2 separate regions of the Homo sapiens genome follow, and region 2 is linked to region 1. The links are contacts of gene promoters, found by promoter capture Hi-C in human tissues and cell types (Jung and others, 2019). All regions are on one chromosome and are shown on one strand. Each heading gives the region's core, a stretch centred on a gene start or on the middle of the fragment in contact. The rest is flanking DNA. Distances are from core to core; before and after follow the strand shown. Region 1 holds the start of C2CD2L (C2CD2 like). Region 2 holds the start of TREH (trehalase).

What was found. The method cuts DNA at HindIII sites, captures the fragments that hold promoters and counts their contacts. A contact is called where the count stands out against the background at its distance.
Region 2: the fragment with the promoter of TREH here is called in contact with the fragment with the promoter of C2CD2L in region 1 in 1 of the 25 tissues and cell types used here (aorta).

Annotation. Positions count from the first base shown.
Region 1 is chr11:119,103,087-119,110,140 of GRCh38, forward strand. It overlaps C2CD2L (C2CD2 like), which reads left to right and starts at 4,258. Exons shown (of 14, transcript NM_001290474.2): 1 at 4,258-5,009; 2 at 7,018-7,054. The coding sequence starts at 4,656. RefSeq lists an enhancer at 1-35 and silencers at 4,093-4,542, 4,613-4,892. The HindIII fragment of the contact is 6,279 bases long and covers 2,019-7,054 here.
Region 2 is chr11:118,677,147-118,684,200 of GRCh38, forward strand. It overlaps TREH (trehalase), which reads right to left and starts at 2,504. Exons shown (of 15, transcript NM_007180.3): 1 at 2,393-2,504. The coding sequence starts at 2,481. RefSeq lists enhancers at 1,734-2,395, 2,396-3,055. The HindIII fragment of the contact is 23,297 bases long and covers 1-7,054 here.

The DNA.
Region 1 (7,054 bases), core at 3,008-5,507:
CCCTATGTTGGTCAGGCTGGTTTGGGACTCCCGACCTCAGGTGATCTGCCCGCCTTGGCCTCCCAAAATGCTGGGAGTACAGGCGTGAGCCACCACGCCCAGCCAGTTCACCAGCATCTTTATTACCTTTCATTCCCCGACAGGCTCTTAGGCGGCAAATGATTTCCATTTGTCAGAGAGGAAGTCACCACCAGTGAGTTAGGGAAAGGACTCCAATAGCCTAGCGCTTTGTCCACTCTTCCCTCTATGGCATGTTCCAGGAGTCAGGGTCATGTTGACCGTTTTTAAGCCGAAGATAGTTTCTTCTTTCCCTCAAAATCAGATGTGAGGCCGGGCGCAGTGGCTAACGTCTGTAATCCCAGCACTTTGGTAGGCGAAGGTGGGTGGCTCACTTGAGGTCAGGAGTTCGAGACCAGCCTGGCCAACACGGTGAAACCCCGTCTCTACTGAAAATACAAAAATTAGCCGGGTGTGGTGGCACATGCCTGTAATCTCAGCTACTCAGGAGGCTGAGGCAGGAGGATCGCTTGAACCTGGGATGAGGAGGTTGCAGTGAGCCGCGATCATGCCACTGCATCCCAGCCTGGGCAACAGAGGGGAAACTGTCTCAAAACAAACAAACAAACAAACTAAATCAGATGTGAAATGGCTTTTCTACTTGAAAATGGCTCTAATTAACAACAACAAAAACCCAGATATGTATAAAATACATAAATTTTCGTAATTTACTTGCTAGTATTCCACCAGATTTTCAGTACTTATCCCACTGCTATTATTTTTCTGTGTGTGTTGTGTGTATGCACGTGTGCCCCTTTTAAACTAGAAACTCCCGGGAGGCAAGTGTTTTCTCTTCCACAGGGTGTCCCCATGGGGCTAGGAACACAGACATCTGTGTACAAGGAAGGCATCATCACACATAATGAGGCTGAGGCTGAAAGGAGGACTGAGGGCAATAGGTGCATATGGAGGGAGCAATTAGTTGTGACCAGAGTAAGTGGTCTTGAGGAAGAGAAGTATCATTTCAGTAGATTATAAGAGTAGAAGGACCTTTCACAGGCAGCGACAGTGAGACACCAGAAGCTGGTGGAAAGGAGGAGCTTGTGGGATCCCAGAGGAGGCAGCATTCAGTTATCTTGTTGATGACGAGTATACTGAGACTCCCTGGAGGTCTGAGAGCCAGTCTGTATCTATTTCCTTTTTTATTAGGAGGCCAATCCTAATAAATCTTCCTTCCCAGCCTGGTATTGGGAAGCTTTATCTCTTTCTTCTCCAGAGATCATTAGCCCTCCCTACCACCACCCTCCTGGGGAGGGTGGAAGGATGTAATCAAAGACAAGAGAGACTAAGGATTCATCATCCACATATACATGTTACTATCAGAAAATGGTTACTAAGATACTTGTCAGATAATCTGAGTATTTTTGTTCCCATGATGATAAAGTCCCAGTTGATGATCAGACTAATCAGAAGGAGAAACAAACACATGACTTTTGGCTTCACTTGAAATTGTGTGCCTTCCCTGGTAAAAGTTCAAAGCGTTTTCCTGAATGCTGAAGCCGGCCCTAGGATTCACAGACCAGTTGACTTGTCAGTGGCCCTGGACTGAGCAGACAGTGTTTGAGATGCACACCTCTTCTAAGTAGCCTTGAGTGGCTCCCAATGAGCAAGGCCAATCCACTGAATGTGATTGCTAGACAAAGCCTGTCCCAAAAATGTTTCATAGTGCCACAAAGACAATGAGACCCCTCTGGATAGTCTGGGGCTGTGATACTTGCAGGACTCTATCTGTGGCTCTGTCCAGTCAGCTGAATCACTCTTTTTCCTTTTCCTCCCACCTCTCCCCTCTTAGTCTAGAAAAAAGTTGTTAATTAAAAGCAAGCCCCAGGATTTCCCATTCCACTGGTATGGCATGAATGATATTTCAAAAGACAGAAATGGCATAGAAATTCTCAAAGCATACTTGAGTATTTTCTGTTAGACTTCTTAAAATTACAAAGTTTGTTAATCCCTACTATGTGCATAGGAAGCTCTTCAGTACTGTGGAGGATACAAACTAATATAATTGCAGTTGCTTGCCCCCAGGGAGTCTACTTCAGCATATTTGGAGCATCTTGGTTGAATTTGAGGGAAAAGAGATGACTAAGACATGGTTCCCACCCCTAGGCAGCTTCCTGATGCATGGAAAAAGCAGACATATAAACAATCAGCTAGACTCTAAGGCAGAATGTAAGTGCTAGAGGTCTAAGTAATGGAAGAAAGAAGGAGGACTAGGCTGGGCACAGTGGCTCTCACCTGTAATCCCAGCACTTTGGGAGGCCGAGGCGGGAGGATCACCTGAGGTCAGGAGTTCGAGATCAGCCTGGCCAACATGGTGAAACCCTGTCTCTACTAAAAATAACAAAAATTAGCCAGGCATGATGGCGCATGCCTATAGTCCCAACTACTTGGTAGGCTGAGGCAGGAGAATCACTCAAACCTGGGAGGTGGAGGTTGCAGTGAGCCAAGATCTCGCTACTGCACCCCAGCCTGGGCAACAGTGACTTTCTGTCTCAAGAAAAGAGAAAAAAAAAAAAAAAAAGAGGGAGGACTAACTAGGGAGACTCATGTAACTAGGTAGACTCACAGTTCAGATACTGAATTGTGAAGCAGTATCTGGCAGCATAGGACCAAGCACTCAGTGGAGAAGTTGAGGGAATAAATCAAAGAAGTCAGAGAATGGAGATCACTAGGGGGTCTGAGGGTTCCTGAAGGATTCTTGGGGGAAGAGGGTCTTCATAGGGAAAGCTTCTACCTGGACAACTTCCTGCATAACCTGCTCCCCTAAACCCTAGCTGCTCTTCCCACTGACAGCTTCCTCCTGCATCCCTGGTTCTGGCCCTGAGTTCTCTCCTCCCTTGATTTCATGTCTTCTCCTCCCTTTGAGATTAGAAACCCAGACTCTAGGAATCTCCACTGATTTGGCAGTCCAGTGACAATGCATGGGCAGGGCCACAGGAGGTTACCTCATTCACCCCCACCTCTCCCCATCATTCCTTACAGGGAAATCTAGGGAGGCCCAGGCTACCCCACCACCTCCTCTGGCTCAGACAAACCTGTTGCTGACCTGTCAGTTTCTGTCTAGCCCTGCCATCCCACACTTCAGAAGGCATTGTTTATTCTCTTATTCTCATGTGCTCATTCCTCAGACAACTACTTGGGTTTGGGAGAAAGATACTTAACACCTTTCCATCCTACCTCTTTAAGAAAGGGACTGTGTGCCAAAGACCTTCCCACATGTATGAAGAAGGGGCTCTTGGGAGAATGTGAATTCCCCCAGGATTCCTTTGAATCCTTTTGCAGGTATTTCCTTCCCCTGTCCTCAGCAAGCATTGATGAGCCCCAGTCCTGTAGAGGTTGAATCAACTCCTTGAGTCTAGGAAAAGATGGCTTCTGAGGCCAGAGGTTGGGCAGTGTACCTACAGCACCATTTCTTGGGAGCTTGTTGGGATATCACATACTTAGAGTGGCAAGGTCTTGTGGCTGAATCTATTGATAGTCCAGTGCTACATTGCCAGCTCCCTTGTCATTACCACCCCCTCTACACGTGCTCCATAGGCAGGAGCTGTTACTATGGAAATACATTATTTTTAAAAACAGACACACAGCCTGGGCTTGGGAATCTCCAGAACAAACCTACACGAGCAAGGAGGTTAATGGGGCTGTTTCTGGGTCCAAGCTCCAAGAGGAAGGAGGGTGATGATGGTGGGGGGAATTCAAATTCGGTGTTCTACTCTCAACCTCTCCCAGCTTCAGGTTCTGCTTTCTCTCTGTTGACATCAGCTGGACCTCTGCCAGACACTTCTATCTGGGAGGGACGCTCTGCGTCTCCTTACCCTGGGCCTAGCTTCCCCCAGGAAATGGGAAGCTAGAAGTCGCTGAGTCTGGGGGTGTTGGGAGAAGGGGGCGGTGATTTCCACAGGGGTCACCTCCTTCTTAACCTCACAGGCGTCCGACCTGTGGAAATCTAACAAGCATAGGGGAAAGCAAAGGCAGCATCTTAGGTAAGTGAAGTTACTCTTGCCTTGAGCTGAGTGTGGGAGCACCGCGATTGCAAGATGGGGCGAGGTGATCAAAGATCCCGCCTATTTTCAACCCCGGAACCTCCTCCGCTCGCTGCTAGCCCTCCCGCCCTCCTCCAGCGAGGGAGCGCCAGGCTGTCCTGGCCCCGCCCGGCGCGGGTGCGGCTCCTTTAAGGGCGGGTGGGGGCGGGGCGCCGGCGGTGTTGTCAGTGTCAGCTCTGCGCACGCAGCCCTCCCGGAGCCGGTGCCGGCCCGCGAGCCCCAGCGTCTCTGCAGACCAGTCCCCTCCAGGGTCCGGCGGGGCCCGCGCGGTGGGAGGAGTCGGGCACTGGCCGGCGACTAACGGGTCCGACTGCTGACCAAGCTAGGAGAGACCCGGACCACGGAGACAGAGACCCCGGCATCGCGACCCCCGAGGACCTCCTCTCCTCGCCCTGTGGCACCCACTAGTCCTGGGCACTCAGCCGCGGAGAGCCCCCGACCCCGCGCGCCCAGCCCCGGGGGAGCCCACCTCCTCCCCGCGGCCCGCCCGGGCCATGCTCCCCCGGGGCAGCGGGTGAGCCCCAGCCGGGACCGGGATCGGAGCCCGCGCGGAGCATGGATCCGGGCTGGGGGCAGCGGGACGTGGGCTGGGCGGCCTTGCTGATCCTCTTCGCCGCCTCGCTGCTCACGGTGTTCGCCTGGCTGCTGCAATATGCCCGGGGCTTGTGGCTGGCGCGGGCCCGCGGGGACCGGGGCCCGGGACCCGCCTTAGCCGGGGAACCCGCGGGTTCCCTGCGGGAGCTGGGCGTGTGGCGCTCGCTGCTGCGGCTGCGGGCGACTCGGGCTGGCGCCGCCGAGGAGCCAGGAGTCCGGGGCCTCCTGGCGTCACTCTTCGCCTTCAAGTCTTTCCGGGAGAACTGGCAGCGGGCTTGGGTGCGAGCGCTGAACGAGCAGGCCTGCAGAAACGGGGTGAGTTGGACCAAGCGCTTGGGTGGTCCCTTCAGCCTTTCCTTCCAGGGGAGGGACTGACTGCTCGTGCTAGGAGGCCAGACGAGGGTGGGCATAAACTGGGGAACCCTATGGCTTCTCTTCCCCTCCCGGATCAGAGAAAAGGGTGCCGCTAAGGCTGGAGGTTGTAGAAATCCAACTGGGTCCCCAGACTTCCATTTCTGTGGGCAAGGTACTCTGGTTCCAAACCCATGCACAAGTTGCTGTTCTCATAGCAACGCTAATCCCTGTGCCTGAGGGCACTTCCGCCTTGCCTGGGTGCTGGTTGTGTTGGGGCATGGGAGACAGGTGCACCTGCAGAAGGAATTTGCCTGCTTCTCATGCCACCACACCCATTTAACATTTCATGCCCCAAATCCCTGGTGTGGTCAGGCAGATCCCCAAGGAGCCTGAATCACCCCCCTACCCGACAGTAATTTCACTGCTACAGTCAAACACATCCTTCTCCTCCATGCTGGCCTGTGGTTCACTGGGGGTTGGGGAGTGTTCAGGTGGAGAGCAGATTGACAGTGCCCCTACCAGTAGATGAGCTTGGAACTGCCCCTTGAGGGTCAGTCACAAACCAGTCCAGCCTACTTCCTCCCATTGCACCATGGGCATCTGGCCTCCCAGGAAGTGGGGCAGGAAGCGTGGTCATGAGATGGAGATAAGGTGGGAGGTAGAAGTCTCTCTTTTCTGGAGCTCCCTCCCATCCTGACCCAGCAATCTCTCCTTGCTCTCACAGTCCATCAGCTCCTTGCTCAGAGGGTTCTCTATTTCCAGCCACTATGAGTTTGGAGGCTTTACCTTACTAGTTCCCCAGATGCCGGAAACAGAAATGTCCACAAGAAATTGCTCTATTTACTCTGTCCAGCTGGCTGGCTAAAAGCCAGATGGCATCTGTCAGTTTACACCTTGAACCCACCTCTTCATCCAACTCTCCCTGTACCTTGTCCCTCGGTCAGAAGCAACTCCCCAGGATAGCTGACTCAACTGGACATTGGCCTCCCTTGCAGAGGGTGGGGAGATTGAGGTTTCAAGCATCCATCTCCCCATCTTCCTTGGCCTAGCCTTTGAATGAGACAGCTACCAGAGCAAAGGAGTTGGCTTCCCCTGGTTTGCCAAGCAAATGAACCCTATGGATTTGTTTCCTCCATCTCAAGACCCAAGGAAGAGTTGCCAGCCAATTCTGTGCCCCTTCCTCAATTCTGTGTCCGCACTGCTCTCCAGGTGGGGCTGCGGTAGGTTGCTTCCATTACTGTGGACGAATTAGGGAGCAGCTCTTTTGAGATCTAAGCAGCTTTCTGCTCTCTAATACCGTCCTGCTATCTGCCTTGAGGAATTAGCCAGGCCCCTGGACTCTTGGGTCCTCTGAGCTTGTATCTCTTCCCAGTCCCCCTGGTACGGATCCCCAAGGCCATGCTCATCTTCATCTCCAAGAATATGAAGCATCATACTCTTGAAGCCTCCACATCTTATTTATTTGGAAGAAGGCTTAGCTTCATTTCTGCAGCTCTTATCTTGAACAAGGTGGCTCTACCACCTTTACCGGGGCTTAGCCCTTTCCCTCTGCCCAGCTATTATATATAGGTGGCAACCAGCACCTTAACTTTTTTCTATGTAGGATTTTTTGTTTGTTTGTTATTTGTTTTTTTAGGGGGTAGGGTAGGGGATGAAAGGGATTGCAGGGAGAAGAAGAAGGAAGCTCTTGGTATTCCAGGAGGAAGCCAGGGTCTTCAGCTTAAGGTGATCTAGTCTCTGAGGTGGACTACCTCCCCATTGCTCAGTGGCTCCTAGCAGCTACAGGCCCCTGGAGAGGCAGGCCTTGAGGGGACTACCTCCTGTCTTAAAGCCCTGAGCCAAGGAGGGGCCAGAAGCCAGCCTGCAGCTGAGGCCTCCGCAGTGGCAGAGTCCAGCCAGCAACTGAGCAGGCCAACCCTGTGGGGGGCAGCTCCAGAGACCTGATCCAATGCCCACATTACTCCCTCAGAGCTCCATCCAAATCGCCTTTGAGGAGGTGCCCCAAC
Region 2 (7,054 bases), core at 1,254-3,753, 430 kb before region 1:
CAGTTTGAACTCTGGAGAGTGAGTAACTGAGGTCAGCCACACAGGTAGTCCACGCTTTCATCACTGACCTCCAATAAAAACACTGGACACCAAGACTCAGGTGAGCTTTTGTGATTGGCAATACTTCATGCGTGCTGTCACATGTTATTGCTGGAAAAATCAAGTCCTGTCCATATAAATCCACTGGGAGAGGAAAAACTGGAAGATTGAGATTATTTTCTCCTGGACTTGGCCCTAGAATATTTCACCTTTGATGGCTTTAACATGTATCTTTTCACTGTAAGAAACCATAATCAAGGCTGGGCACGGTGGTTCATGCCTGTAATCCCAGCACTTTGGGAGGCTGAGGCAGGCGGATCACAAGGACAAGAGATTGAGACCATTCTTGCCAACATGGCAACACCTCTGTCTCTACTAAAAATACAAAAATTAGCTGGGCGTGGTGGCAGGTGCCTGTAGTCCCAGCTACTGGGGAGGCTGAGGCAGGAGAATCGCTTGAACCCAGAAGGTGGAGGTTGCAGCGAGCCGAGATTGCACCACTGCACTCCAACCTGGCGACAGAGCGAGACTCTGTCTCAAAAAAAGAAAAAAAATGAAACCATAATCATGGTATAACCATTTGGAAGTGTTAGTGAATCACTGGCCTGAGGTTGGTCTTAGGGAACACCAGTAAAGTCATCTTCCCCTACATTTGGCAAACAGCCTAATGCTTGACAAAGCACTGGACCACCCAGCCTCTCTGAAGTCCTCATTACAATTGCTCAGGACAAAACCTATTAATTATCCCAGGTACACTTTTCCCCTTTATATTCCACAATTGTCATGGGCAAGCACTGTCAACTCTCCCTGTAACACACACCCTCTATTGAACCCCTTGTCTCTGTCTCTAGTCTAACCACTGGAACCCAAGCCCAAACCTTGTTGCCTGGAGCCCCGCTCTCCCCGGACCTGTTCCCACTCTGCCCCAATCACACAGGCCTTCGTCCCAATCCCTGAACAGTGCGTCAGGGCCTCTGCATGGCCCTTTCCATGCCTGGACTGTCCTCTCCCAGATCAGCTCAGCAATGGTTCCTGCCACAATTCTGCTTACACATCACCTCCTCAGAGACACCGTCCCTCCCCATCCTCTCTAACACACCCTCTGCTCACCCACACCAGCGGGCCCTAACTTCTCTCTACTTCAAACTGTGCTTCTGTTACTGTTTTGCTTCTATTATTATTATTATTATTATTTGAGATAGAGTTTTGCTCTTGTTGCCCCGACTGGAGTGCAATGGCATGATCTTGGCTCACTGCAACCTCCACATCCCAAGTTCAAGCGACTCTCCTGCCTCAGCCTCCCGAGTAGCTGGGATTACAGGCGTGCGCCACCATGCCCGGCTAATTTTGTATTTTTCATAGAGATGGGGTTTCACCATGTTGGCCAGGCTGGTCTCGAACTCCTGACCTCAGATGATAGCTCCCACCTTGGCCTCCCAAAGTGCTGGGATTACAGGCATGAGCCACCGTGCCCAGCTGTTTTTCTTCTATTATTATTGTTCTTGCAGGAGCTGGTAAAGTGGCTGATGTGGCCACAGCTCCATAAATCCATGTGGAACGAAGGGTGGACATCGCCTGAGTCCAGGAGACAGGACAGGGTCACTCATCTCTGTCCCTGGTGATGGAAACTCAGGCTCAGGAAAGAGCCTTGACCTGCCCTGGGTCACAGAGAGAATATGAGGGTCAGGGCTCAAGCCCAAGTGCTGTCTTCAGGCCCTTAGGCTGCCTCTCACACCCAGACTAGGAAGCTGGAGCAGAAAGTTTGCTAGAACAATCCTGAGAAGAGGCCTGCACAGTTCAAGGGGCAGCTTGGAGGAGGAGAGGAAGGGAGGGCGGGCTCTGGCCAGCAGGCTCTTGGACCTCAGGCCAGGCTCTGGCAGCTGCGTCTGGTATCAGGACTGCAGGTCCCGACAGGGGGCGGTGGCTCACGCTTGTATTCCCAGCACAGTCGCCAAGCCTAATGTCCCTTCCAACGGTGGAAAATTTTGGTAAAAATCAATGACAGGCTGGGCGTGGTGGTGCATGCCTGTGATTCCAGCTACTCAGGAGGCTGAGGCACGAGAATCTCTCGAACCCGGGAGGTCTAGGCTGCAGTGAGTGGAGATGGTGCCACTGTACTCCATCTGGACGACCGAGCAAGACTCTAACAACAACAACAAAAAAAACGGACTGCAGGTGCAGTGCCCAGCACAGAGCCTGCTACATAGGAATTCTCATTTTCTTCTCTTCCCTACTCTTTCCTTCCTTTATAATCTCTTCCTTTCCCTCTGAAGTACCGACCCCAGAGCTTGAGATCTCATCCCAGCCTCCCTCTTATTGCCATCCTCCCCTGCTGCCTTCCCCACACCCCTACCTCTCACAGGGTGGGGGTAGGGCCTCCTGGGACCCCAGTCCCAGCCCCAGCAGCAGTAGCAGGCACAGCTCCCAGGTCCTCCCTGGCATGGTGGCTGTGACTGTGACTGAATGAGCAAGCCCAGGCACCTTCGGCTTGCTGGGCACAGCCTGGCTCACCTGCCTGTCCAAGTCGGCCAAAGTCCAGCCTTTGAGGCGTGGCCACCTGAGGGGACGTGTGCTTGGTCTGTGTGTGGCCCGCTTGCCCCTCCTGCTCTCAGGGCACAGTGGCCACCTCCCTTGCTTCTACTTTGCCTCTTCTATTTCACAGTCTCAGCTGGTGCCAATGGCTCAGGCCCTTCCCTCAGAGCATGGTGGTGGGGGTGGGGAGTGGGCACCCAAAGGCCAGGGACACAGTCGAGGCCACACACCTGTAACCTGGATGCCAGGTTCCTTGGGTGGCCCCAAGACCACCAACCTCAGAGAGTTACCATTTCCCTTAACATTTCAAATGGAATGGCTCAAGATCCTGTCCCTGGTGTGGTGTGAAATTCAGGGCCTCTCACTGTTATCTGCAAGAGATACAGCGGAAGCACAGGACAGTAGAACCATTCTGTCTGGGGAGGACTAAGGGAGACCCACAATAGTGTGTCATTTGTAATGAGTCTTTTTTTTTTTTTTTTTGAGACTGAGTCTCACTCTGTCGCTAGGCTGGAGTGCAGTGGCGTGATCTCAGCTCACTGCCACCTCCGCCTCCCGGGTTCAAGCAATTCTCCTGCCTCAGCATCCTGAATAGCTGGGACTACAGGTGCCCGCCACCACGCCCAGCTAATTTTTGTATTTTTAGTAGAGACGGGGTTTCACTGTGTTGGCCAGGATGGTCTCAATCTCTTGACCTCATGATCTGCTCGCCTTGGCCTCCCAAAGTGCTGGGATTACAGGCGTGAGCCACTGCGCCAGTCCTAATGAGTCTTGATGACCGCATAGGAGTTTGCCAAGGGAAATGGGCTGGAGACCACTACAATGTATGCAGAGCATGTGAAGAGAAGAGCAAACCCCTCAGCCTAGCTGCAGAGAACTTGGTGTTCATGCAGGGAAGGGTTTTGAGATAGACTGGAGGAACATGTTGGCACCAGTCTGGAAATGGTCTTTGCCAAGCCAAGGAATGTAATTCCTTGTAATTCCCCAAAGTGGAACCAGCAGAGAAGTTTGTGAGCTTAAGAAGCAGATTCAGGCTGGGTGCAGTGGCTCATGCCTGTAATCCCACCACTTTGGGAGGCCGAGGCGGGTGGATCACCTGAGGTCAGGAGTTCAAGACCAGCCTGGCCAACATGGTGAAACCCCGTCTCTACAAAAATACAAAAATTAGCTGGGCATGATGGCGGGTACCTGTAATCCCAGCTCCTCAGGAGGCTGAGGTGGGAGAATCGCTTGAACTCGGGAGACAGAGGTTGTAGTGAGCCGAGATCATGCCACTGCACTCCAGCCTGGGCGACAGAGTAAGTCTCTGTCTCAAAAAAAAAAAAAAAAAAAAAAAAGCAGATTCGGTTACTTTAGGAGGCTCATCCCCTCAACATATGGAAGGTGAGCTGAAGGGACAGGGGACAGGGGGTGGGCAAGGCACATGGAGTTTAATGATAGGCATGACCTCTCCTGAAGGACTTAGGTTTGCAGTTAAGGATGTCAGTTGTGGCACCTGAGCAGTGTTTACTGCTATTAAAAAGAAAAACCTTAGACAAATTAAATTTAACCATTTATTCAAGCAAAGAAATGACTCATGAATCAGGCACCACTCTGAACTAGTAAAGGTTCAGATAGCTCCACCCAGTAATGTGGGCAGCTGGCATTGTTTTTTTTGTTTGCTTTGTTTTTTGAGACAGGGTCTCGCTCTGTTGCCCAGGCTGGCATGCAGTGGCTCCATCACAGCTCACTGCAGCCTTGATCTCTCAGGTTTAAGGGATTCTCCCACCTCAGCCTCCTGAGCAGCTGGGACCACAGGCACATGCCACCACGCCCAACTAATTTTTAAATTAAAAATAATTTTTTTTTTTTTAGAGATTGGGTCTCCCTATGTTGTCCAGGCTGGTGTGGAACTCCTGAGCTCAAGCAATCCTCCTGCCTCATCCTCCCAATGTATTGGGATTACAGGTGTGAGCCACCATGCCTGGTCAACAATTTTTAAGTGTACAATTCAATTTCCTTTTATTACATTCACAATGCTGTGCAACCACCCTTGCATTCTTTGGATAAATCTCACTTGGTCATGATGTCTAATCCTTTTAATAAACTGTTGGTTTTGGCTTGCGAGTATTTTTTTGAGGAATTTTGCATCAATATGTATAGAGCATATTTGACTGTAATTTTCTTTCCTTGTTTTGTTTTGTTTTTTTTTTTTTTTGGACACATAGTCTTGCTCCATCACCCAGCAGGCTGGAATACAGTGGCATGAACACAGCTCACCACAACCTCGACTTCCTGGGGCTCAAGTGGTCATCTGGCCTCAACCTTCTGAGTAGCCAGGACTACAGGTGCATGCCACCACGCCTGGGTAATTTTTAAATTTTTTTGTAGAGACTACATCTGACTGTGTCGCCCAGGCTGGTCTTGAACTCCTGGCCTCAAGTGATCCTCCCGCCTTGGCCTCCCAAAGTGTTTCTCCCCAAGTGTGAGCCACCATGCCCAGCCCTCTTGTGATGTCTTTATCTGGTTTTAATATCAGGGTAATGTTAGCCTCATAGCATGAGTTAGGAAATATGCCCCTCTTCTATTTGTGGAAGTGTTTGAGAAGGATTGTTAATTCTTTAAATGTTTGGTAGAATTTACCAATGAAGCCATCTGGTCCTGGACCGTATTAGGCAGAAACAATACATATATGGGGGATGGGGGTAGAGAGAGAGAGTTTGAGAGGTAGCTGGCAAGTCCAAAATCTCTAGGGTAGGCTGGCAGGCTGGAGAAACAGGGAAGAAGCTGCAGTTCAAGTCTGAAGGCAGCATGCTGAGAGAATTCCTTCTTCTTCTGGGGAGGTCAGTCTTTTTCAAATTAAAGTCTTCAACTGATTGGATAAGGCCCATCCAAGTTAGGGAGGGTAACCTGCTTTACTCAAAGTCTACAAATTTAAATGTTATTTTCATCTAAAAAATATCTTCACAGAAACATCTAGAATAATGCTTGACCAACTATCTGGATACCTTTGCCTAGCCATGTTGACACATAAAATTAAACATCTTTTTTTTTTTTTTTGAGATGGAGTCTCGCTGTGTTGCCCAGGCTGGAGTGCAGTGGCATGATCTTGGCTCACTGCAACCTCTGCCTCCTAGGTTTAAGCGATTCTCCTGCCTCAGCCTCGTGAATAGCTGGGATTACAGGCGCCCACCACCACACCCAGCTACTTTTTGTATTTTTAGTAGAGATGGGTTTTCACCGTGTTAGCCAGGCTGGTCTCGAACTCCTGGCCTCAGGTGATCCACCCGCCTTGGCCTCCCAAAGTGCTAGGATTACAGGCATGAGCCAACGTGCCCAGCCAATGTTCTTTAAAAAAACACATGACTCTACAGTGATTGTACTAACTTACATTCTCACCAACAGTATATGAGGGTTCCTTTTCTCCACATCCTCACCAGCATTTGTTATTGCCTGTCTTTTGGATAAAAGCCATTTTAACCGTAGTGAGATAATATCTCATTGTAGTTCTGATTTGCATGTCTCTGATGATCAGTTATGTAGCGCACCTTTTCATATACCTGTTTGCGACTTGTATGTCTTCTTTTAAGCAAGGTTTATAGTGATTCAGATCTTCTGCCCATTATGCAGACTGGCTTTGTTCTGGGGGAACACCTCATTATATTGCGCAGGCTGGTCTCAAACTCCTGGGCTCAAGCAATCCTCCCACCTTGGCCTCTCAAAGTGCTAGGATTACAGGTATGAGCCACCATGCCCAGCCAGTAGTGTTTTTTTTTTTTTTTTTTGAGACGAAGTCTTGCTCTATCACCCAGGCTGGAGTGCAATGGCATGATCTTGGCTCACTGCAACCTCCGCCTCCTGGATTCGAGTGATTCTCCTGCCTCAGCCTCCTGAGTAACTGGGACTACAGGCGCCCACCACCACACCCGGCTAATTTTTGTATTTTTAGTAGAGATGGGGTTTCACCATATTGGCCAGGCTGTTCTTGAACTCCTGACCTCATGATCCACCCACCTCAGCCTCCCAAAGTTCTGGGATTACCGGCATGAGCCACCACGCCCGGCCTCCAGCAGTTCTTTTTTTAGTATTATATGTTTACAACTAACCAAGTCTACTCAAATAACACTACATTTCATGGTAGTGCAAGTACCTTATGATAACAAAGTAGTCTTAACTTCTCCCTCCTGTCCCTTCTATCATTGCTGTCATTCAGTTCCCTTATCCATAAACTAGAATCGTTGAATACACAGTTGCTATTACAGATTGAGCACCCCAAATCTGATAACCCAAAATCTGAAATGCTCCAAAATCCAAAACTTGTTGAGTACAGACATAATGATCAAAGGAAATGCTCACTGAAGCATTTCAGATTTTGGATGATCAGATTTGGGATTTTGAACCAGTAAGTATATTGCAAATATTTCAAAATTCAAAAAAAAAAAATCCAAAATCCAAAATTCTCCTGGTATCAAGCATTTTGGATAAATGCCCTGTTTTATTTTGA